Linked DNA regions of Homo sapiens: all the other regions are linked to region 1. The links are contacts of gene promoters, found by promoter capture Hi-C in blood cells and fetal thymus (Javierre and others, 2016). All regions are on one chromosome and are shown on one strand. Each heading gives the region's core, a stretch centred on a gene start or on the middle of the fragment in contact. The rest is flanking DNA. Distances are from core to core; before and after follow the strand shown.

What was found. Contacts are between HindIII fragments. The CHiCAGO score rates a contact against its expected background, and 5 or more counts as called.
Region 2: a contact is called between a fragment that was not itself captured here and the fragment with the promoter of BUD13 in region 1, in 1 of 17 cell types (monocytes). The highest score is 5.6, in monocytes.
Region 3: a fragment that was not itself captured here is called in contact with the fragment with the promoter of BUD13 in region 1 in 1 of 17 cell types (monocytes); the score reaches 8.3 in monocytes.
Region 4: a contact is called between the fragment with the promoter of HMBS here and the fragment with the promoter of BUD13 in region 1, in 1 of 17 cell types (monocytes). The highest score is 6.4, in monocytes.

The regions. Positions count from the first base shown.
Region 1 is chr11:116,768,859-116,774,315 of GRCh38, reverse strand. BUD13 (BUD13 spliceosome associated protein) reads left to right here and starts at 1,329. Exons shown (of 10, transcript NM_032725.4): 1 at 1,329-1,494; 2 at 4,094-4,187. The coding sequence starts at 1,352. ZPR1 (ZPR1 zinc finger) reads left to right here. Exons shown (of 14, transcript NM_003904.5): 14 at 1-517. It overlaps BUD13-DT (BUD13 divergent transcript), which reads right to left and starts at 845. Exons shown (of 2, transcript NR_186226.1): 1 at 805-845; 2 at 111-406. RefSeq lists an enhancer at 781-870 and a silencer at 991-1,190. The HindIII fragment of the contact is 6,866 bases long and covers 1-4,231 here.
Region 2 is chr11:119,270,709-119,276,165 of GRCh38, reverse strand. It overlaps CBL (Cbl proto-oncogene), which reads right to left. Exons shown (of 16, transcript NM_005188.4): 3 at 4,285-4,431; 4 at 2,142-2,298; 5 at 1,213-1,334; 6 at 32-169. Among named protein-coding and RNA genes, the nearest start is that of MIR6756, 40 kb to the left of the region's middle. The HindIII fragment of the contact is 1,148 bases long and covers 2,088-3,235 here.
Region 3 is chr11:119,127,503-119,132,959 of GRCh38, reverse strand. HINFP (histone H4 transcription factor) reads right to left here. Exons shown (of 10, transcript NM_198971.3): 3 at 2,006-2,235; 4 at 1,314-1,425; 5 at 978-1,130; 6 at 387-464; 7 at 179-299; 8 at 1-96. Among named protein-coding and RNA genes, the nearest start is that of HINFP, 8.7 kb to the right of the region's middle. The HindIII fragment of the contact is 7,014 bases long and covers 1-5,457 here.
Region 4 is chr11:119,082,489-119,087,945 of GRCh38, reverse strand. HMBS (hydroxymethylbilane synthase) reads right to left here and starts at 3,065. Exons shown (of 14, transcript NM_000190.4): 1 at 2,880-3,065. The coding sequence starts at 2,912. RefSeq lists enhancers at 2,788-2,837, 2,767-3,464. The HindIII fragment of the contact is 13,649 bases long and covers 1-5,457 here.

The DNA of each region.
Region 1 (5,457 bases), core at 80-2,579:
GGGAATCTAATGTACAACATGTTGACTATAGCTAATAATTCTGTATTGTTTACTTGAAGTTTGCTAAGACAAATTTGCTTAAGTGCCCCCCCACCGAACTACTACATAAATTAGTGAAGGATGTTTTACTTAATTTGATTTTGGTAATCATTACACAATGTATAATTATATCCAGTCATCACATTGTACACCTTGAATATATATAATTTTTTGTCAAATAATAAAGCTGGGAAGAAAACGATAAAACTGACAATCTAACATATATGATGAGGTAAAAAGATCTGGTATTTCAAGAAATTTGGATGACCTCTTGCACCCCACTTCGCTAGCCTCTACTCCCTAGAGTCATGTTCTGACTATGTGAAGTTGAGCAACTTCCTTAATCTTGCCACGCTTCAGTTCTTATCTGTAAAATATGATAATGAAACGATTTGAGAATTGTGAGGGTTAAATGAGATAATTCAGGTAAAGCTCTAAACCCCCTGCAAAGAATAAAGTCTTTTCTTTCCCCCCAAAACTTGAGTGTTAGAATTCATTCTCTCTGGTTTCTCTCTTTTACTATGCTAAAAAATGATCCAGGTCCGTCCTTCTCATTGGCAAGATTGTTTTACAGTTTCCTTCAAGAGATAACTGGGGGCTACTTGTAATAGAACACTAGAAGAGTTACACAGGTCTTAGAAACTACGTTTTTCATAGTAATTATGTTGGTTTGCACTTCCTGGCTTCCTTTCTTGGACGGTAGGTACCTGGAAGCCTAGTGGAGCAGATTCCCCCCACTTAAAGATACTTATAAAAATAACGAACATAGTTCCGATGACCATGTGCCCAACACCGCTCTGCGCACTTCACACAGTAATATCATCTCAGCCTGTGACCGTTCCGAGTTAGGTGCCGGGATTCTCCCTGTTTTGTGATAACTTGCCCGAGGTCGTACAGCTAGCCAGCTATGGAACCAGTATTCAAACTCGGCTACGCTGCAGCCCGTGGCCCTCCACTTTCTTGCTCGTGCTCTGGAGTTTAGGCGGCCGATGGGGGCGGGGTCCTTTGGGTCAGGTTGTGGCCTCATAGAACAGCGCTTGCTGCGGTTGGATGGATGGGTGGGTGGGTGGGTGAGTGAATGAAGAGAAGAAACCTGGTGGCGTCGTCCCAGGGCTGTGGAGCGCCCCGAAGGTGCGCACGTCCCTGGCTAGCCTGCGAGCGCGTCCCGGTGGCCGCACCTGCCAGCCGCGCGATTCTTAGCACTCTCCGCCACTTCCGGCCGTGGCCCCGCCCTGTCGGGTGGCTGGCGTCCGTTACGCGTTGAGGCATTTTGTCCCCAGCGCCGACCCGTCTCTCTGCCCCCGCCGCTGCCATGGCGGCAGCTCCGCCGCTTTCCAAGGCCGAGTATCTGAAGCGTTACTTGTCCGGGGCAGATGCCGGCGTCGACCGGGGATCTGAGTCCGGTCGCAAGCGTCGCAAAAAGCGGCCGAAGCCTGGCGGGGCCGGCGGCAAGGGGTGAGTTGGTACCGGCCGGGGCGGGGCCTGCGACGTCTAGCCACCCCTTCCCAACTCCGCCCTCGGCCGCCCGGCAGTTCCTTCCCTCTTGGCGGGTCTCTCGGCTTCTCCGCCGACCCCTGCTCATGCTCAGGGCCCCACTCACATCGCTTGAGGCCCCCCGCCTTGCCTCTGCCGCCCCGCTTACATCTCGAGCCTCTGAGCAGTAGCGTCAGTGCGTTAAAGCCGGGGTGTAACTTTGATTACTCTTTTCCCGCCTTGGTAGACTTCCGTCCTCTCCCATAGAGAATGAATATTGTGCCTCGAGAATAATGGAGCGGATTCAAAGCCTCTGTGCTTGGATCTTTAGGGCCCGGTACCTGCCTGTGGGGATTCCCAGATCCCAAGGACTTGGTTCTGAATCAGAGACCTTTGATCACCTCCTGTTACTCTTAGTAATAGTCCTAACGTGAGAAGCTAACATTTATATAGTTATACTTTTCTTGCCAGGCACCATTATAAGAAATTTAAACATATATAAGTTTATTTAAGCCTCACCACACTACCATGAAGTGGGTATTATTTTCATATGGGACAACTTTGTGGCCCAGTGTAGTGGGCCCTACCAAATCGTTTTCCACCCAGAACCACAGAATGTGACATTTAGAAATAGGGTCTTTGGAGATGTAATCAGTTAAGATGAGGTCATACTTGATTAAGGTGGGTGCCAAATCCAAGATGACTGTTTGCCTTTTAAAAAGAGGGAAGTATGGATACAGACACAGCAACAAAGGAAAAACGACCATGTCTAGATGAAGGCTGAGATTGGATTGGATTTATGTTGCCAAAAGCCAAGGTATGCTTGGGGCTACCAGAAGCTGGGAGAGGCAAGGAAAGATTCTCTGCTAGAGACTTTCCAGGGAGGATGGCCTTGCAGACACCTGGATTTCAGATTGCTAGCTTCCAGAACTGCGAGAGAGTTTCTGTTGTTTTATGCCACGCAATTTGTGGTACTTTGTTACAGTAACCCTAAGGCACTGAGATACCCAGTGAAGTCACATTGTTCTAAAGAACTAGTCCAAGTTCTTTTCTGGTTTGGTGCTTGCCTTATTATTGTCTTCGTCTTTCTGCCTCGCTGACTTGTGTGGATCCTTTGGAGGCAGTGCCATGTGATGAAAGTAGCTTGAGTGTTGGAGCAGCACTGGTCAGAGTTCGAATCCTAGCTGTGCCACTTTATAGGCTGTGTACCCTTGGGCAAGGTGTTTCATCTCACTGAGCTGCAGTTTCCTTATCTTTAAAATGAGAATAATAATAATAATGGTTTTATTAAGTGGTGGTTGTGATTAGAGGGATTGCATTAAGTGACCCTGGCTTTTTGAATAACTTCACATCATGGCAGTCATTGTTATTATTTGGGCTCAGCTATATAGTTTATCCACGTAACAAACATTTATTGAATATTTCGTATTCCAGTTACTGTAGGGTGTTGAGGATGCCTCTGTGAACAAAAAAAACATAGTCCCTGTTCTTGTGGAGCTTATAGATTAATGGGAATACAGGCTTTAAGCAACTAATTACACAACTAATCGATATATTTTCTTTATGATAAATGCAATGAAAGTATTCCAAGAGTTTTTAACAAGGGTTCTTAGTCTTGAGTGAGTGTGGGATGGTGAGGGAATTGGGTGAAGCAGTCAAGAAAAGTTTGCCAAAGGAAGTTAAATTTGTGTTAGGACCTGAAGAATGAGGAAGAGTTTCCTGGAATGAGAAAGAGTTTCCTAGCACTTTGGGAGGCCAAGGCGGGTGGATTGCTTGCATCTAGGAGTTTGAGACCAGTCTGGGCAACATGGTGAAACCCTGTTTCTACAAAAAATACAAAAAAGTAGTCAGGCACAGTGGCACATGCCTGTAGTCCCAGCTACTTGGGAGACTGAGTAGGGAGAATAACTTAACCCCGGGAAGTCAAGGCTGCAGGGAGCCATGATGGTGTCCCTGCACTCCAGCCTGGGCAGCAGTGTGAGACCCTGTCTCAAAAAAGAAAAAGACTAGGGCCGGGCGCGGTGGCTCACGCCTATAATCCCAGCACTTTGGGAGGCCAAGGCGGGCGGATCACGAGGTCAGGAGATCGAGACCATCCTGACTAACACGGTGAAACCCCGTCTCTACTAAAAATACAAAAAATTAGCCAGGCGTGGCAGTGGTCGCCTGTAGTCCCAGCTACTCAGGAGGCTGAGGCAGGAGAATGGTGTGAACCCGGGAGGCAGAGCTTGCAGTGAGCTGAGATCGTGCCACTGCACTCCAGCCTGGGCAACAGAGCGAGACTCCGTCTCAAAAAAAAAAAAAAAGAAAAAGATTGAAAAGAGTAGATCAGGCAGAGGGAAGGAACTGCATATGTGAAAACTGATGTGATAGGAACTTGGCTCCTTTCTAAGCACCAAAGGATGACCAGGGAGGTGTTCAACCAAGGAAGTAGCAGTAGGAGATGAAGTTGACCTTGTAGACAAAGACTGGACCATGCAGGATCCTGTAGGATTTTGAACTTTATTTTAAAACCAATAGATAAATGTTTTTATGCTGGTATCCTAGAATGACTCTTTTTGATCTTCTTATTCTCATTTAGAATGCGGATTGTGGATGATGATGTGAGCTGGACAGCTATCTCCACAACCAAACTAGAAAAGGAGGAAGAGGAAGATGATGGAGATTTGCCTGTGGTATGTATCTTTGGGGCTGTCAGGATTTTGAAATGAAGCAAGCTTCTCAATTTCCTTTTTTTTTTTTTTTTTGAGACGGAGTCTCGCTCTGTCACCCAAGCTGGAGTGCAATGGCATGATCTTGGCTCACTGCAACCTCCGCCTCCCGGGTTCAGATGATTCTCCTGCCTCAGCCTCCTGAGTAGCTGGGATTACAGGCACCCGCCATCATGCCTGGCTAATTTTTTTTTTTTAATTTTTGTAGAAATGGGGTTTCACCATGTTGGCCAGGCTGGTCTTGAACTCATGACCTCAGGTGATCCACCCACCTTGGCCTCCCAAAGTGCTGGGATTACAGGCGTGAGCCATTGTGCCAGGCCAAGCTTCTCAAATTTATTTTTCCAGCTTAGGGTAGATTTGTAGGGGGGTTAGTTGAGAACAGAAAAGAGGTGACAGTTTCCAAAGAGCTGTTTAAAATAGTTTTCTTTGCTGATGCCTATACACCAACTTGTCTCTTTATGGAGGGTCCATCAGCCTAGAAATGAGATGGATCACAGAGAGAGGACTTCTCGACATCAGTGTTAGAGTAATGATGAGACTTAGCTGTGGTTCATTTTGTTGGAATCTTTCTTAAAAACAATGCTGAGGTTCAGTTATAGGGAACTTTTTATTTGCTCCTTTTTTCAGTGCTTTAACTAAGCTTTCAAATTGTATATTCTTGCCTAAGTACTGGAGATATGTAGATTAATAGAACATAGCTGTATTTTAGAGATTATACCCTAGAATGAAAAACTGAATTTCAGATAAATTTCAACAGTATGGTAAATGTTGGGGATGTTTCACATACGTACCAAGTACCATTAGAGCCCGGGGAGGTAGCATACTTTGTATTCTGTTGGGAGATATCCTGAAAGATGTAAATACTGAGTTTTGAAGGGTAAGTAAGAGCCAGGTGGACAAAATCATAGGCAAATGACCTCCCAGTGGTTCATGAAACCATTGCTGAGAATTTCTGAGAAACAAAGTGGAAAGGAGAGCTGTAGATAGGCTGAATTCCACTAAAGTTGGTAAAGATGGATTCCAGTGAGTATTTAATATTAATTCCCAGCAAAATTCTTTTTTTTTTTTTTTTTTTGAGACGGAGTCTCACCGTGTTGCCCAGGCTTGAGTGTAGTGGTATGATCTCGGCTCACTGCAAGCTCTGCCTCCTGGGTTCACACCATTCTCCTGCCTCAGCCTCCTGAGTAGCTGGGACTACAGGGGCCCACCAACACGCCCGGCTAATTTTTTG
Region 2 (5,457 bases), core at 1,412-3,911, 2.5 Mb before region 1:
CTCTAACAGATGGTATGCAGTAGGTACTCACAAGCCTTCCCTGAAGCCATCAATCAGTGCTTGGAAGAGAGGTTTATTGTGAGGGATTGTCTGGAGAATGTTCCCATCAGCAGTAACATACCCAATAGCCCACTGACCCAGACGAGTACAGCTCAGCCGGAAGATATAACTATGAACAGACATAAACAGAAGCTTTAGTAGATTATGCTGGTATTACGGTGGAAGGCAAGGCAAGATACAGACAAAAATCAAAAGAACCATCAAGAATAACAATAACTTTCTTCCTTTCTTTCTTTCTTTTTTTAAGATGGAGTCTGGCTCTGTCACCCAGGCTAGAGTGCAGTGGCACAATCTCAGCTCACTGCAGCCTCCACCTCCTGGGTTCAAATGATTCTCCTGCCTCAGCCTCCTGAGTAGCTGGGACTACAGTATGTGCCACCACACCTGGCTAATTTTTGTATTTTTAGTAGAGATGGGGTTTCGCCATGTTGGCCAGGCCAGTCTTAAACTTCTGATCTCAAGTATCTGCCCACCTTGGCCTCCCAAAGTGCTGGGATTACAGGTGTGAGCCACCACACCCAGCCAAGAATAACTACTTCTGAGCTTCAAGTCAGTGACAAGAAAAAAGAAAGAAAATATTTTTAAAAAGAGAGTAACTTCTTCCATGACTCCACACCAGAAGCAAAAGACACATAAACTCTATTCTTTTTTTGTTTTTGTTGTTTTTGAGATGGGGTTTCGCTCTTATTGCCCAGGCTAGAGTGCAATGACATGATCTCGGCTCACTGCAACCTCCACCTCCCAGGTTCAAGTGATTCTCCTGCCTCAGCCTCCTGAGTAGCTGGGATTACAGGCACCCGCACCACACCTGGATAATTTTTGTATTTTTAGTAGAGACAGGGTTTTACCACTTTGGCCAGGCTGGTCTCAAACTCCTGACCTCGTGATCTGCCCGCCTCGGCCTCCCAAAGTGCTGGGATGACAGGCGTGAGCCACTGTGCCCGGCCATAAATTCAATTCTTAAGTGGCCTGAAAACATTTATCAAATTATAGGATCTGAATTAAGTCAATACGTCTGATAAACAGGTATCAATCCTATTGCAGAACCTTGGCTATTGCGAAACTAATTAAGGTCATGTTTCTTCTATACTAGCAGAAGTCTCAAGATAACGAAATTCAGAAGAATAAATCTCTTTGCGTCATTGAACTGACCTGCCAGGTTTGTGAATGAATTTCTGGAGCCGAGCTTTCACTTCGTCATACGTCAAAAAAGCCATGTAGCCAGGATGAGTTACAGCAAGGCTGTTCCAATTCCTGAGCAAAGAGGACCAGGGCTAAAGAAACAAGATCAATCACAGACTATTCAGGTCAGATGTACAACCAACTCAGAGGGCAATGAGAAAAAAAAAAAACAACACCAACTCTCAGTTCATTGTCAGAAATTTTTAATTATACCATCACTCAGAGAGAAGACACATGTGTTCAGGAGATTAAAAACTCTGAAAAGCTACGAAGAAAAGAATATATGCTTATAGGGAGAAACTTGACACAAAATGAAAATTCTAGAATTTGTAAAGCAGCTCTAATTAACAGTAGTGGGGTTGAACAACAACAAACTGAAAACCAGGATAGGGCCTATAGGTGCAACTAATAAGTTCCAAATAAATGTGTATGCAAATTGGCACAGACAACACCAGAGAAAGCATTATTTTTAGAGAAAAAGAAAGGAGTTGTTTTTGAAGCATCTAAACATCTCAATATTAACAGTCAATTTCAATAAAACAGGAGAAACAGTTGCAAACATACACAAATATCCAATATCAGAAAACTAATATATTCATATTCTGGCCATTCTACAAACATTAAAATGATACAAAAGAAGAATATTCAATAACAAGGAAAGATGTGAGGAGAAGAAAGCAGTTGGTATAGCTGTCATTTTCACTATATATACATACACACACATACATATATTTTTAATATGAGATAGTTTTAATCTTTTTTTTGGCATAGTTCCTAAAATGAATTAAAATACTTTCATACAGACAAAAACCCCAAATGTTATTTAAAAAAAAAAAAAAAAAGCTTTCTCTTCACCGAAGTAGCAGTAACCAGTTTAGTCAACTTTTTTAGTGTCCTACCTGAAAGAGTCGGGTAAAGATGTCAAATTCAAAAACCGAAATATAATCATTGCAGGTCAGATCAATAGTGGATTTCAGAGCCATGGCCTCCAGCCCAGAACTGATGGGATGCACTTCATGTAGAGCCTGTCGAAAGCTCTTCCAAGGGACTATTGTCCTGGGGAGGGGGTGGAGAGGAGGCATAAAGTGAAATAACAGAGATAATTCCAGGCATCGCCATAATCAAGGAAAGGAAGGAGAGCCACATTAAGCTCTCAATACCAATTTCAATTCTCGTAATTCAAAATACAGGTCAACTTCTTTAAGAAAAGAAAGAAGGGGACCAGGAGCCATGGTGCATGCCTTTGGGAGGCCCAGCACTTTGAGAGGCCAAAGTGGGCAGACTGCTTGAGCCCAGACTGGGCAATATGGTGAAACTTTGTCTCTACAAAAACAAACAAACAAACAAAATTAGCCAGACTAATTAGTTCCAGCTACTCTGGAGGCTGAGGGGGGAAAATCACTTGAACTTTGGAGGCAGAGGTTGCAAGTGAGATCGTGCCACTGCACTACAGCCTGGGCAACAGAGTGAAACCTTGCTGCAAAACAAGAAAAGAAAAATAAAAAATAATTTACAAATAAAGACCAGGTCTTGTAATGTCATCCAGGGTAGTAGTCTCAAACTTCTGGCCTCAAGAAATCCTCCTGCCTTGGCCACCTAAAGTGCTGGGACTACAGGAGTGAGCCACTGTGCCTGGCCAAAAATGAAGGCCTTTAAAGAGAAACTTGGGCCTAACACAGTGGCTCACGCTTGTAATCCTAGTACTTTGAGAGGCCAGGGGGAAAGATTATTTGAGGCCAGGACTTCGAGACCAGCCTGGGTAACACAGCAAAATCCTGTCTCTGCAAATTAGCTGGGCCTGGCAGCACACACGTGTAGTCCCAGCTACTTGGGAGAACTGCTTGAATCCAAGAGTTTGAGGCTGCGATGAGCTATGATTGATTGTACCACTGCACACCAGACTAGGCAAGAGAGTGACATCCTGTCTCAAAAAAAAAAAAAAATAAAACGACAAAACCTAGGATATTTATATTTATACTTAAAAATACAAGCTTGATGCATAAATCAACCTATATAATATATAGAGAGACAATACAGCAAAACGGAAAAGGTAAGCCACAGACTGGGAGAAGATATTTGTAATGTAAGTATCTAACAAAGAACTAGTAACCTATAATAACAGAAAGATAAACCACTCAATAAGAAAATGGGTAAATCAGAAATAGGAACAGGCAAGTAAGAATAAGAATCTTGACTGGTCATAAAGGTGAGAAGAAGCTCAATCTCCCTTCTCATCAGGGAATATAAAGCAAAATATTACACCAATTCACATCGCCAGCGTTAGCCAAACTGTGGGGCTACTGTAAAATATGAACTGGTACACCATTTTGGAAAGAAATTGGACAATACTTAGCAAAGCAAAAGATGTAAAACCCCAAGACTTAGCAATTCCACTCCTGCGTATGTAAATAAAGACAATTTCTTGCATATGAAGACAACTTAGATATTGCTCACTGCTGATAGCAAATAATGTGAAATGTACATGTCCATTAAGAGCAGAATGGGGCTGGGCATGGTGGCTCACGCCTGTAATCCCAGCACTTTGGGATGCCGAAGCAGGTGGATCACGAGGTCAGAAGTCGAGACCATCCTGGCTGACGTGGTGAAACCCTGTCTCTATTAAAAATGCAAAAAATTAGCCGGGCGTGGTGGCAGGCACCTATAGTCCCAGCGACTCAGGAGGCTGAGGCAGGAGAATGGCATGAACCCAGGAGGCAGAGCTTGCAGTAAGTGGAGATCGCACCACTGCACTCCAGCCTGGGCAACAGAGCAAGACTCCGTCTCAAAAAGAAACCACAATGGATGGGGAGAGAAAGGGAAGAGTATTCAAAGAGCATGGGTTTCAATTTAATCTGCAAAACTATTTTTTAAAAACAATGAACAGAGCAAAAACTTAATATTTAACCAAAGCCAGGAAATACATACACATATATTACTTTTCTCAGAGTTCCCAAATTTTAAATATTTCATTAGTAAAAAAGTAAAGAAAAAACTCGTAAGCTTTAGTTTTTCATAGTTCAAATTCATTATTCTGAGACTTACTTTTCCCCAAAAGCTTTTCTCCAAAATTCCGCAGCATCTGCTTTAGTAATCCGAAATGTGTCTCCCTGAAAGAGTCCACTTGGAAAGATTCCTTTTAGTTCTGCCAGCATGTGGCTGAAGATGAGGGACAGTTTGGTTAGGTTTCGCCTACAAATGATCAGAATGCAATAATTAAACACATAAAATTATTTTTATTTTAAATGCACCAAATTCACCATACAAGATGTATAATTAACATGAATATTAAAATACATTTAGAAAGAACCTCTTCAAATATTCTTTCTGGCCAGTATTATTCAAGGATATAAAAAAGTAGAGAAGAGAAAAGAAATGCGCTGTTGAGGATGTTACATATTCAGTGATCTTGTTCTTTATTTAAAGAAGGGTTTTAGAAACTTTTTGCTGTAAGATCATATGAAAGATACAAACACAATGAAGAAATACTGTTGCATTCACTGCCTCCACTTGTATCTCCTCCATTCAAATAGATATTATGAAGTAAACAAGAGAAAAAATTTAGTCATATATCTTAAAGCTTTTAATCTTGAATTAATAAAGCTTAATAGCTAAGCATGAACATGGACAAATTTACTTTTTTAGGATGACAGGTAAGAGAATTCAACAAATAAGTGTAAGAACTTATGCACTGCTATAATCACTCTATCACGGAAGAAAAAATGTTAGGAAACCAATGTATTATTTCCTGCTTTGCAGGTGTATTTATCAAGTATATTTATCATCATATAACATATCTAAATAAAAGATAAATAAGTCTTAATTAAAAGAATTTTTAAGTATCCAGACCTAATAAATGCTTTCTTTCACTGAACCAGACCTTAAAGAGATAAATTTTACCCAAACTCCTCTTCCTTTACCAAAAATGAGATGCTAACATCCAAACCACACAAAAATTTCTACATAAGTGCATATGCTACTGTTAACAATTACTTAATTTTGTTCTCACAACCTGTTTAATGGATATGGTTATAAAGATATCACACAGGCCGAGAGTGGTGCCTCACGCCTGTAATCCCAGCACTATAGGACGCCAAAGTGGGCGATCACTTGCAGTCAGGAGTTCAAGACCAGCCTGGCCAACGTGGCGAAACCCTGTCTCTACTAAAAAATATAAAAATGGCCGGGCGCGGTGGCTCACGCCTGTAATCCCAGCAC
Region 3 (5,457 bases), core at 1,538-4,037, 2.4 Mb before region 1:
CGGGCACTGAAGGTGCAGTTCTCAAAATCACACCTGTAGGCTGGCTCCTCGCTGTGGGTATCCAGGTGCTTCTGGAGGTCAATAAGATTCTTGCAGCTGCCATGAGAAATCAGGAGGGATTGGAGGACATGGGGAACACTGGAACATGAGCTGTTTTCTGGTCCCTGGTCCCCCTTACCTGTAGTCACAACAGTCACATTTAAAGGGCCGGTCCTCACTGTGACGAAAGCGCATGTGGTTGCGGAGGGAGGAAGGCAGCGGGCAGGTCATGTCACACAGAGGGCACTTATAGTGATTCACTGAGAGAAGCAGAGAGGAGGCTGTGATGTGAGAACTTGTGGAACCTTGGAGGGCAGGAGGGAGGCTGTGGGCCGCAGGCCACTCACCATGGTTGCGCATGTGGTCCCGCAATAGCCGCTCTGTGGCAAATCTCTTGGAACAGTGAGAACACTGGAAGTGCTGCTCTGGGGTGGGGCAGGCAGAAGAAAGGAGGGCTGTAGGTGATAGTGGAGAGGCACAGAAAGGAGAGGGGAACCATCCCAGGCAGAAGGGAACCACCCAAGGAGAAAAGGAGAGCTTAGGGAGCTATGAATGGACACAGTATCATGGAAAGAGCATGGGACTTAGAGAACCTGAGTTAGAATTCCAGCTTCACCACTTACTAGCTGTGTGATCTCAGGTAAGTGATTTAACCTCTCTGAGCCTCAGTTTCCTCATCTGCAAAAAGGGGGATAAGAAGCCTACCTCATGGGGCTGTTGTGAGGATTCCCTAAGTAACTGATACGAGGTACAGTAAGTACTGAATAACAATGCCTACGAATCTGAATCAGCAAAGAGACTATGGGAGGTGCCTGAGCCCAAAAAGAAGAGGCAGCCAAAAGGCAGGTCTCTTCAGTGGCCACCCCCACTAGAAACATGCCCCTAACCCATTCCAAGCAGGACAGCCTGCATCCACCCCACTTCCTCTGACTACTTACGATCCAATGAGGTCTGGCGACGGATGTGATCTAAGAACTTGGTATTGTTGGCAAACATGCCCCCACAGGTGGGGCAGGCTACCACTTTCTCCTGGGTATGGCTGCGGAGGTGCTCTCGAAGTTTACTGCGGTCCTTGAAGGTGCAGGTACAGCCTGGGAAGGAAGCCCTATCAGTCTCCTGCCACAAAACCCCAGTTTTGCCTAGGATCTGGTACCCCTGAGTCTCTCCAGCCGGCAGTCAACCTTGCCCCTGTAGGACCCCTATCCCTTTCTGTCCCAGCTCTTCAGGAACCCCAGCGTTTCCTCCAGAAGCCACAAGTTAAGAAGCAGCCCTACCTTTCCAGCCACACAGCACCACCGGGTTGTCCTTGCCGACTGCTTCGTATTCACAGCACAGACTGTGTGCTTCCACATGCCGATAAAACCACTCAGGATTGTCGAAGGAATTCTGTGCCAGGGGCAACTTGGGGTGAGGACTGAGGGTGGGTAGAGGGACTCACCCCTATGTGCCCGAAGAATTCTTGGCTCTCTCCCAAATTAACTTGATGGGGATGGGAAATTTTGAGGAAAGGCACTGCACAGAAATGGAGGAGTGGCCGGGTGCGGTTGCTAAACCCTGTAATCCCAGCACTTTGAGAGGCTGAGGCAGGAGAATCACTTGAGGCCAAGAGTTCGAGACCGGCCTGGGCAACACACCCAGACCTTGTCTCTACAAAAAATTTAGAAGTTAGCAGGGCATGGTGGTACATGCCTGTAGTCCTAGCTACTTGGGAGGCTGAGGTGGGAGGATTGCTTGAGCCCAGGAGTTCAAGGTTACAGTGAGCTATGATTGTACCACTGCACTCTAGCCTGGGCTTCAGATCAAGAGCCTGTGTGTAAAAAATAAACAAATTTTAAAAGAGCAAAAGAAATGGAAGAGAGATACTAGCAGGAATCTTGGAAATATAAGGCATCCCTGAAAGGGACAAGGCATCAGAGTTAAGACCCCCAGCTTCCTTCCACCCCAATTACTGGCACTGCCTGCTGACCTCACAGTGCTCCCACAGACACAGGAAGTGGTCAGGGATATCAGGGATGACGTTCCGGCTCTGGAAGTCCAGGATGCAGGGGCCAAGGTCAGCCTGGCTTTGCAAGGCCTGCAGCCCCCACTGTTTCAGCTTGGTGTGGTAGCAGTGGAAGTAGACATGGCGGATGAGGTCAGCAGAACTGTCCAGAGAACAAAAGCCACATTCCTGCCACAAGCAGGAGAATTCTTCCTCTGTAGAAAGGGGTTTAAAAGGAAGAGTCTGACACTTTCCAAGGCTCAGGTCACCTTCCACCTGCAGCACTAAACAGAGAGTGAGGAGGCTGGACTCGTGAGGAGGCTGGACTCTAACCAAATTACCAGGGTTCATTTAGCAAATACCAGTATTTAATGACCATAAATTGTGTGCCAGTTAGAGGGACTATAACAAGTAAAAAGTGTCCCACTCCTTGCCCTCACATAGCTTTCAGTCAGGGAGAAAGCATATTCATCAAATAATCAGATCTATAAATATAAAACTGCAACCAGTGATGAGTGTTACAAAGCGGGGATATACATGGTGCTATAAAAGCATTAAACAGAGGTCATTTGACATGGTGTTCTGAGAAACGTCCCCATGTTGAACTCTGAAGTACGATGGATGAGTATCTGTAAATAGGTGAAGAAGTGTGGTCTAGGCAGAGGTGAGAGTGTGTGCAAGGCCTATGCCAGAAACAGACAGCAGAAATGGCCGGCACGCAAGTCCTCTGACTTGAGTTTCTGCAGTTCCTGATGAAGATGCTGCCTCTCGATCTGACACCTCCCACTTCTCCTTGTAAAACCACCACTCCTCCTTCCCCTCATGTTTTGCTCAAGATCTGCCTTCTCCAAGAAGGCCCCATCAACTCTTCCAATCCATTTCCTATCTCTCTAGCATCCCTAAGCACTGTATTTTCAGCGCTTTATATAAGTTAACTTGTTTTGAAACACAGATACTTTAGAAAATATAATCATTCCCCAATTTTGCCTTTGTATAAATATGACTTGAATTTTGAAACTATCAATTATGGTTCATAGTCATCAGACTTAAAACAGAATTTGGGGTGGGAGAAGGAGAGCTGCCTCCATATTTCCTGTAGAATAGAGTTTTTCAGACTGTGTTGTGACCCACTAGTGGGTTAGGAAATCAGTTCAGTGAACTATCAACCACATTTTGGGCCGGGTGCGGTGGCTCACGCCTGTAATCCCAGCACTTTGGGAGGCCGAGGCAGACAGATCACGAGGTCAGGAGATCGAGACCATCCTGGCTAACACAGTCAAACCCCGTCTCTACTAAAAAATACAAAAAAAAATTAGCTGGGCTTGGTGGTGGGCGCCTGTAGTCCCAGCTATTTGGGAGGCTGAGGCAGGAGAGTGGCATGAACCCGGGAGGCGGACCTTGCAGTGAGCGGAGATCGAGCCACTGCACTCCCACAAAAAAAAAAAAAAAGAAAAGAAAAATGTATTCCTGCCAGATGCAGTGGCTTATGCTTATAGTCCCAGCTGCTCAGCATGCTGAGGCAGGAGGATCACTTGAGGCCAAGAGTTTAAGATCAACCTGGTAACATAGCAAGACTCTGTCTCTAAAAAAAAAGTGGCTTTGGTCGGGCGCAGTGGCTCACGCCTGTAATCCCAACACTTTGGGAGGCCGAGGCAGGCAGATCACAAGGTCAGGAGTTTGGGACCAGCCTGGCCAATATGGTGAAATCCTGTCTCTACTAAAAATACAAAAATTACCCGGGCGTGGTGGCGGGCACCTGTAATCTCAGCTACTTGGGAGGCTGAAGCAGGAGAATCACTTGAACCCGGGAGGCGGAGGTTGCAATTAGCCGAGATCATGCCATTGCACTCTAGCCTGAGCAACAGAGTAAGACTCCATCTTACTCTGAAAAAAAGTTTTTTTTTTCCTTTTTCTTTTAAATCCTGCCACACTTATTAGTACCGTGACTTTGGGCAAGTTATTTTATTCCTCTGTGCCTCCGTTTCCTTATTTGTAAAATGGGTATAATAATAGTGCCTATCCCATCCTGGCTAACACAGTGAAACCCCGTCTCTACTAAAAATACAAAAAAAAATTAGCTGGGCATAGTGGCATGTGCCTGTAATCCCAGCTACTCGGGAGGCTGAGGCAGTAGAATTGCTTGAACCTGGGAGGTGGAGGTTGCAGTGAGCTGAGATCGCACCACCACACTCCAGCCTGGCGACAGAGCAAGACTCCATCTAAAAATAATAATAATAAATAATAATAATAATAGTGCCTATCTCATAGGCTCTTTGGGAAATAGTGCTTTAATGTAGGTTTAAAAAAGTACTGGCCGGGCATGGTGGCTCACGTCTATAATCCCAGCACTTTGGGAGGCTGAGGCGGGCGGATCACCTGAGGTCAGGAGTTCAAGACCAGGCTGGCCAACAGGGGCATCCTGGCTAACATGGTGAAAGCCTGTCTCTACTAAAAATACAAAAAAAAATTAGACGGGCGTAGTGGCACGCACCTGTAATCCCAGCTACTCGGGAGGCTGAGGCAGAAGAATCGCTTGAACCGAGGAGGCAGAGGTTGCAGTGAGCCGAGATTGCACCACTGCACTACAGCCTGGGCAACAAGAATGAGACTCCATCTCAAAAAAAAAATAAAGTACCCAGCAATACTTAACACACAGTAGGTACTATAGAATACAGTTCACTATTGTTATTGTTTTCAGATTGGATTTTATTAAAATCCCAGTTATTTGCTATTGATAAAAGGCATACCTAAAACATAAGTCAGACAAAGGTTAAAAAGTGAGAGATGGGGCCAGGTGCGGTGGCTCACGCCTGTAATCCCAGCACTTTGGGAGGCCGAGGTGGGCGGATCATGAGATCAAGAGATTGAGACCATCCTGGCCAACATGGTGAAACCCCATCTCTACTAAAAGTACAAAAATTAGTTGGGCGTGGTGGCGCGCGCCTGTAGTCCCAGCTACAAGAGGCTGAGGCAGGAGAATTGCTTGAACCTGGGAGGCAAAGGCTGCAGTGAGCCGAGATCGAACCATTGCACTCCAACCTGGCAACAGAGCAAGACTCCGTCTCAAAAAAAAAAAAAAAAATTGGAAGGTGGGAGTGGGGTTGGACTTGGTGGCACAAGCCAATAGTCCCAGCTACTTAGGAGGCTAAGGTAGGAGGATTGCTCGAGGCCAGGAGTTTGAGATCAGTGGGCAACATAAGCAAGATCCTGTCTCTAAAAAAAATTTTTTTAAAAATTGGCGTGTGGTGGTGGTACATGCCTGCAGTCCTAACTACTCGGGAGGTTGAGGCAGGAGGATCCCTTGAGTGTTGAAGGCTGCAGTGAGCTATGATCATGACACTGGACTCCAACCTGGGTGACAAGATGAAGCCCTGTCTCTAAAAAGTAAGATGTATTTCTGACTGGTTGCAGTAAAAGAAAAAAAAAATTGGGAATAC
Region 4 (5,457 bases), core at 1,816-4,315, 2.3 Mb before region 1:
AGTGCTGTGCACAGCCAGGTGGGTAAAGAGATAAGGCCCATCAGCCTGGCCACAGGAAGGGTGGGGCCTGCAGCTGGCAGGGGCAGGGCAGCCAGGACCACACTGGGGAACCTGTGCTGAGTCACTGGAGGATAGATTCATTATCTACAACAGACAAGGCACTTGAGAAAATTTCAGTGCCATCCAGATGCCACATGGAGTAGACTAGAGTCTAAGAGCAGCAAGCTGCCACCTTCTCCAGCAAGAGGCCCAGATGTCTGGCTACAAAAGAAGTCAAGAGGATGAAGATCCCACAGTGGGGAAAGCTGACAGTATTAAGGGTCCCTTAATCTGGCTGGACTGCATGCATTAAGGACTGAGGTAAACGGATCTGACGTACAGTCCTGCTCAGCCTCTTGGCTGGGTGACCTTGGGTACACTGTCCCACCAGGATCTGTTTGTTCATCTATAAAATGAAAAGGTTGGACTCAGGTTTCTTCTGCCTCAGATGTTCCATAAGACTAGGAGGCTGCGCTGCCTAAAGTTCGTGCACCTAGAGTGCTGCCTCTGGTTTCACCAACATGGAAATATTAACAGGCCAGAGCCCAAGTCAAGAACTCAAGAGGACACGCCTCTTCCTCCTGCCAGAGTACCTTGGACAAAAGTATTCACTGCTAAGCACGTAGAACTGAATTCTTCAGTCTAAGACGGAGGTCCCATTTCTCTCTTTTTTTTTTTTTTTTTTTAGACAGAGTCTCACTGTTTTGCTCAGGCTGGAGTGCAGTGGCGTGATCTAGGCTCACTACAACCTCCACCCCTGGGTTCAAGCTGGAACTACAGGCATGTTCCACCATGCCCAGCTAATTTTCACATTTTTAGTAGAGACGGGGTTTCACTGTGTTGGCCAGGCTGGTCTCGAACTTGTGATCCTCCTGCCCCAGCCTCCCAAAGTGCTGGGATTACAGGCGTGAGCCACCACGCCTAGCCTGATCCCATTTCTTTCTACATCAGACAGTAGCCACTGTAGATACTGATACTGTCGACAGTCAACATTCCCTGATCTGGGATGTTCATCCTATGTAGTTCCTTTTTTTTTTTTTTTTGAGACAGAGTCTCCCTCTGTTGCCCAGGCTGGAGTGCAGTGGCATGTTCTCAGCTAACTACAACCACTGCCTTCCAGGTTCAAGCGATTCTCCTGACTCAGCCTCCCAAGTAGCTGGGACTACTACAGACGCACACCACCATGCCCAGCTAAAATATGTGTGTGTGTGTATATATATATATATATTTTTTTTTTTTTTCTTTTTTTGAGGGGGAGTCGCGCTCTGTCACCCAGGCTGGAGTGCAATGGCGCGGTCTCGGCTCAGTGCAACCTCCACCTCCCAGGTTCAAGCGATTCTCCTGTCTTAGCCTCCCAAGTAGCTGGGACTACAGGCGCATGCCACCACGTCGGCTAATTTTTTGTATTTTTAGTAGAAACGGGGTTTCACTGTGTTCCCTAGGCTGGTCTCGAACTCCTGAGCTCAGGCAATCCACCTGCCTCGGCCTCCCAAAGTGCTAGGATTACAGGCATGAGCCACTGTGCCCGGCCTAATTTTTATATTTTTAGTAGAGACGGGGTTTCACCATGTTGGTCGGGGTGCTATGGAGTTCTTTTGCACCCAGACATCTGGGGCCTCTATTGCCGAAGCAGGTGACAGCTTTCTGCCCTCAGACTCTGGTCTACTCCATGTGATCACTCCAATAAATTAACCCTGGGAGACCCTTTGCAAATTAGGCTAGGCTTGATATTAAACGTGGCCACCAAAATTCTGGGCCACAGGGAGCCCACAGAAAGGACTCTAAGGTCCCAGAACTACTAGGTTCAAACAATTCCTTAAGTTCATTGAATGTGCACAGCATATCCAAGTCAAACCGTTTCATTAAAAAATAAAACACTGAGCACTTCTATGTTGAAGCTATTGCTTTTGCATATTGTTGTCGTCTCAAAAATCCTATCAGGTGGACAAGACAGGCACCTTTGGGACCATGTTACAGAAGCAACGGGTGGCATCAAGGGATGAGGTGACTTGCCTAGGGTCACAGAGCTAATAACCGAAAGAGAGTTGGGGCCACAATTCAGATCTTCCTACTCCTAGTCCAGGGCTCTGGAATGACTGCAAGAGCAAAGATCCCAGCCCTCACCAACAGGCTGGACAGGGGGAGATTAGCAGCTCCCCATCTCTTTCTTATCTCGGCCTGGCAGTGGCCTCCACCAGCTCTGCAGTTTGTCTGTGCACAAGCCCAGGGCTCGGCAAGCAGGCTCGTAATGGAAAGGCCCACGGCGGCCTCCCACCCACGGTAGTAATTCAGTAGGTGTGTCACAGCTGGGGACTTGGAGCGTTGGCTGTGGCTGGGAGACCACTATAACACAAAAAGAAGGCGCACTTCTAAGACGTTTGTGTGCAGTTCGGAGGCTTGGCTGATACTCTCTCCTATGAATCAAAAGTGGAACGTGTCTTCCCAAAGGGGCCGTATCTGCATCCGCCTCAGCCCAGCCTCGAATGAAAGGACCCCGTCTGTGTAGACGAACGTTCTTGGTCTGGGTCACTAAATCTAGAGCCGTGCATCCCAGGCCTGATGGGAATCCCACCCAGATGCCCGCAGGGACCGGAGTTCCGTTCCAAACAATCCTTCCACTCTTAACCCAGTATCACCGCTCTCTGATTTCCCCATTCCTTCCGGAGGGCAACCGAGCTACTGGCCCTTTAAAAGCTACTCGGACCAAAAAAAAAAAAAAAAAAAAAAAAAAAAAGATAGCCGTTCTGACCAATAGACGACTGAGGATGGCAACCTGGGGCCAATCGCTGCACGGCTCGTCCAGAAGCCCAAAGTGTGCTGGTCACCGGCTCAGCACTCACCGCCGTTGCAGCCGCATTGCCGTTACCAGACATGGCTCCGCTTGGAAAGTAGGCTGTGTGTGGGTGCCGCTAAGGTCCCCCGGCCCCGGGAAGCCGGGGGCTCCGGCCGGCGAGTACCGGGGACACGTGGGACCCGAGGTCGTCCTACAGTCTGACTCCTGGTCTCCGCAGAGCCTCGCGTCACTTCCGGCGCCCTCCCTCGAAGGGGAGGTCCCTCCCTCTGGGCGGGAATTGGAACATTGCGACAGTGGACCTCCCCATTCGACCACCCCATTCCCCAGCTGTGACATGAGCAAGTAGTGCAGCTTCTATGGCGCTTCCTTTGCTCTGTTCAAACTTAGCTTTGCTACAACCTTGAAATAGGCAGCATTTTTCTTTTTGATACGGGGTCTCACTGTGTCCCCAGACTAGAGTGCAGCGGCATGACCACGGGTCACTGCAGCCTTGACCTCCCGGCTTCAGCGATCCCCCCACCTCAGCCTCCCAAGCAGCTGGGACTACAGGCGCACATCACCACGTGGGACTAATTTCTAGATTTTTTTATAGAGACAGCGGGGAGGTGGCCTCACTATGTTGCCCAGGCTAGTCTCGAACTCCTGGACTCAAGCAGTCATCTCGCCTTGGCCTCCCAAAGTGCTGGGATTACAGGCGTGAGCCACTGGCCCAGCCAGCATTTCAATTCTTAAAATGAGGAAACTGGTTCAGAGAGATTAAAGGTCATGCCTAAAGACAAGTAACTGAAGTGGGAGCACAAACGCTACATGTAGTGAGAAAAGGGCTTGTTAGGAAAAGTGCTTTCCCATGAACATAATTTTTTTTTTTTTTTTGAGACGGAGTTTCGCTCTTGTTGCCCAGGCTGGAATGCAATGGCACGATCTCAGCTCACTGCAACCTCCGCCTCCCGGGTTCAAGCAATTCTCCTGCCTCAGCCCCCCGAGTAGCTGGGATTACAGGCACGCACCACCACACCCAGCTAATTTTGTATTTTTGGTAGAGATGAGGTTTCTCCATGTTAGTCAGGCAGGTCTTGAACTCCTGACCTCAGGTGATTCGCCCACCTCGGCCTCCCAAAGTGCTGGGAGTACAGGCGTGAGCCACCGCGCCTGTAATCATGAACATAATTAACAATCATGATTATTAATAATCACCCAGCTAGGTGCAGTGGCTCACACCTATATTCCCAGCACTTTAGGAAGCCAAGGCAGGAGGATTGCTTGAGCCCAGGAGTTTGAGACCACCCTGGGCAACATGGTGAAAACCTCATCTCCACAAAAAATACAAAAATAGCCAGGTGTGGCGGCACACACCTGTAGTCCCAGCTATTCAGGAGGCTGAGGTGTGAGGATCGCTTGAGCCCAGGAGGTCGAGGTAGCTGTGAGCTGTGGTGGTGCCACTGCACTCTAGCCTGGATGACAGAGTGAGACGCCCATTTTTTTTTTTTTTTTTTTTTGAGATGGAGTTTCACTCTTGTTGCCCAGGCTGGAGTGCAATGGTGCAATCTCAGCTCACCGCAACCTCCACCTCCCGGGTTCAAGCAATTCTCCTGCCTCACCCTCCTGAGTAGCTAGGATTACAGGCACCTCCCACCACACCCAGCTGGTTTTTGTATTTTTAGTAGAGACGGAGTTTCACCATGTTGGTCAGGCTGGTCTTGAACTCCTGACCTCAGGTGATCCGCCCACCTCAGCCTCCCAGAGTGCTGGGAATACAAGCATGAGCCACCGCGCCCGGTGAGACCCTGTCTTAAGAAGAAAAAAAAAATCACCCATGTGCTCAGCACTGTACAAAGAACTGAACACCTATTTGATCCTTAGGCTTTCATAATAGCCACACAGCATAGGTGTTATAATCCCTAACGTACAGATGAAGACACAGGTTGAGGGGGAAAGGGTGGGAGCAGGGTGAGGGATAAGAGACTACACATTGGGTACAGTGTACACTGCTTGGGTGATGGGCACCAAATCTCAGAAATCACTACTAAAGAACTTATTCACATAGCCAAATACCAACTGTTCCCCAAAAACCCACTGAAAAAAATACATCTCAAAAAAAAAAAAAAAACATGTTGAGAAGGTAAGATGTGCCTTAAGTCAAACAGCACAACTAGGATTCAAACCCAGCTCAGTAGATGCAAAGTCTACTCATAGCATAGCAGCTACAATACTGCCACTGTTTTTTAATTTTTTACTTTTTGAGACAGGGTGTCTGTCACCCAGGCTGGAGTGCAGTGGTGTGATCAAGGCTCACTGCAGCCTCAACTTCCTGGGCTCAAGCAATCCTCCCACCTCAGCCTCCTGAGTAGCTGGGACCACAGGCAAGCGCCACCAGGCTGGGCTAGTTTATTTTTATTTCTTGCACAGACGGGGTCTCACTATGTTGCCTGGGTGGCTGGTCTTGAACTCCTGGACTCAAGCGATCCTCTCACCTCAGCCCCGCAAAGTGTTGGGATTACAGGCATGAACCACCGCGCCCAGCCCATGGCAATCCTAAATACTACCTAAACCACAGTGTCAAACTTACGTCCTCCAATTAAACAACGTAGAAGATGAAATTAGGTGAGGCTGTGGGGAAAACGACA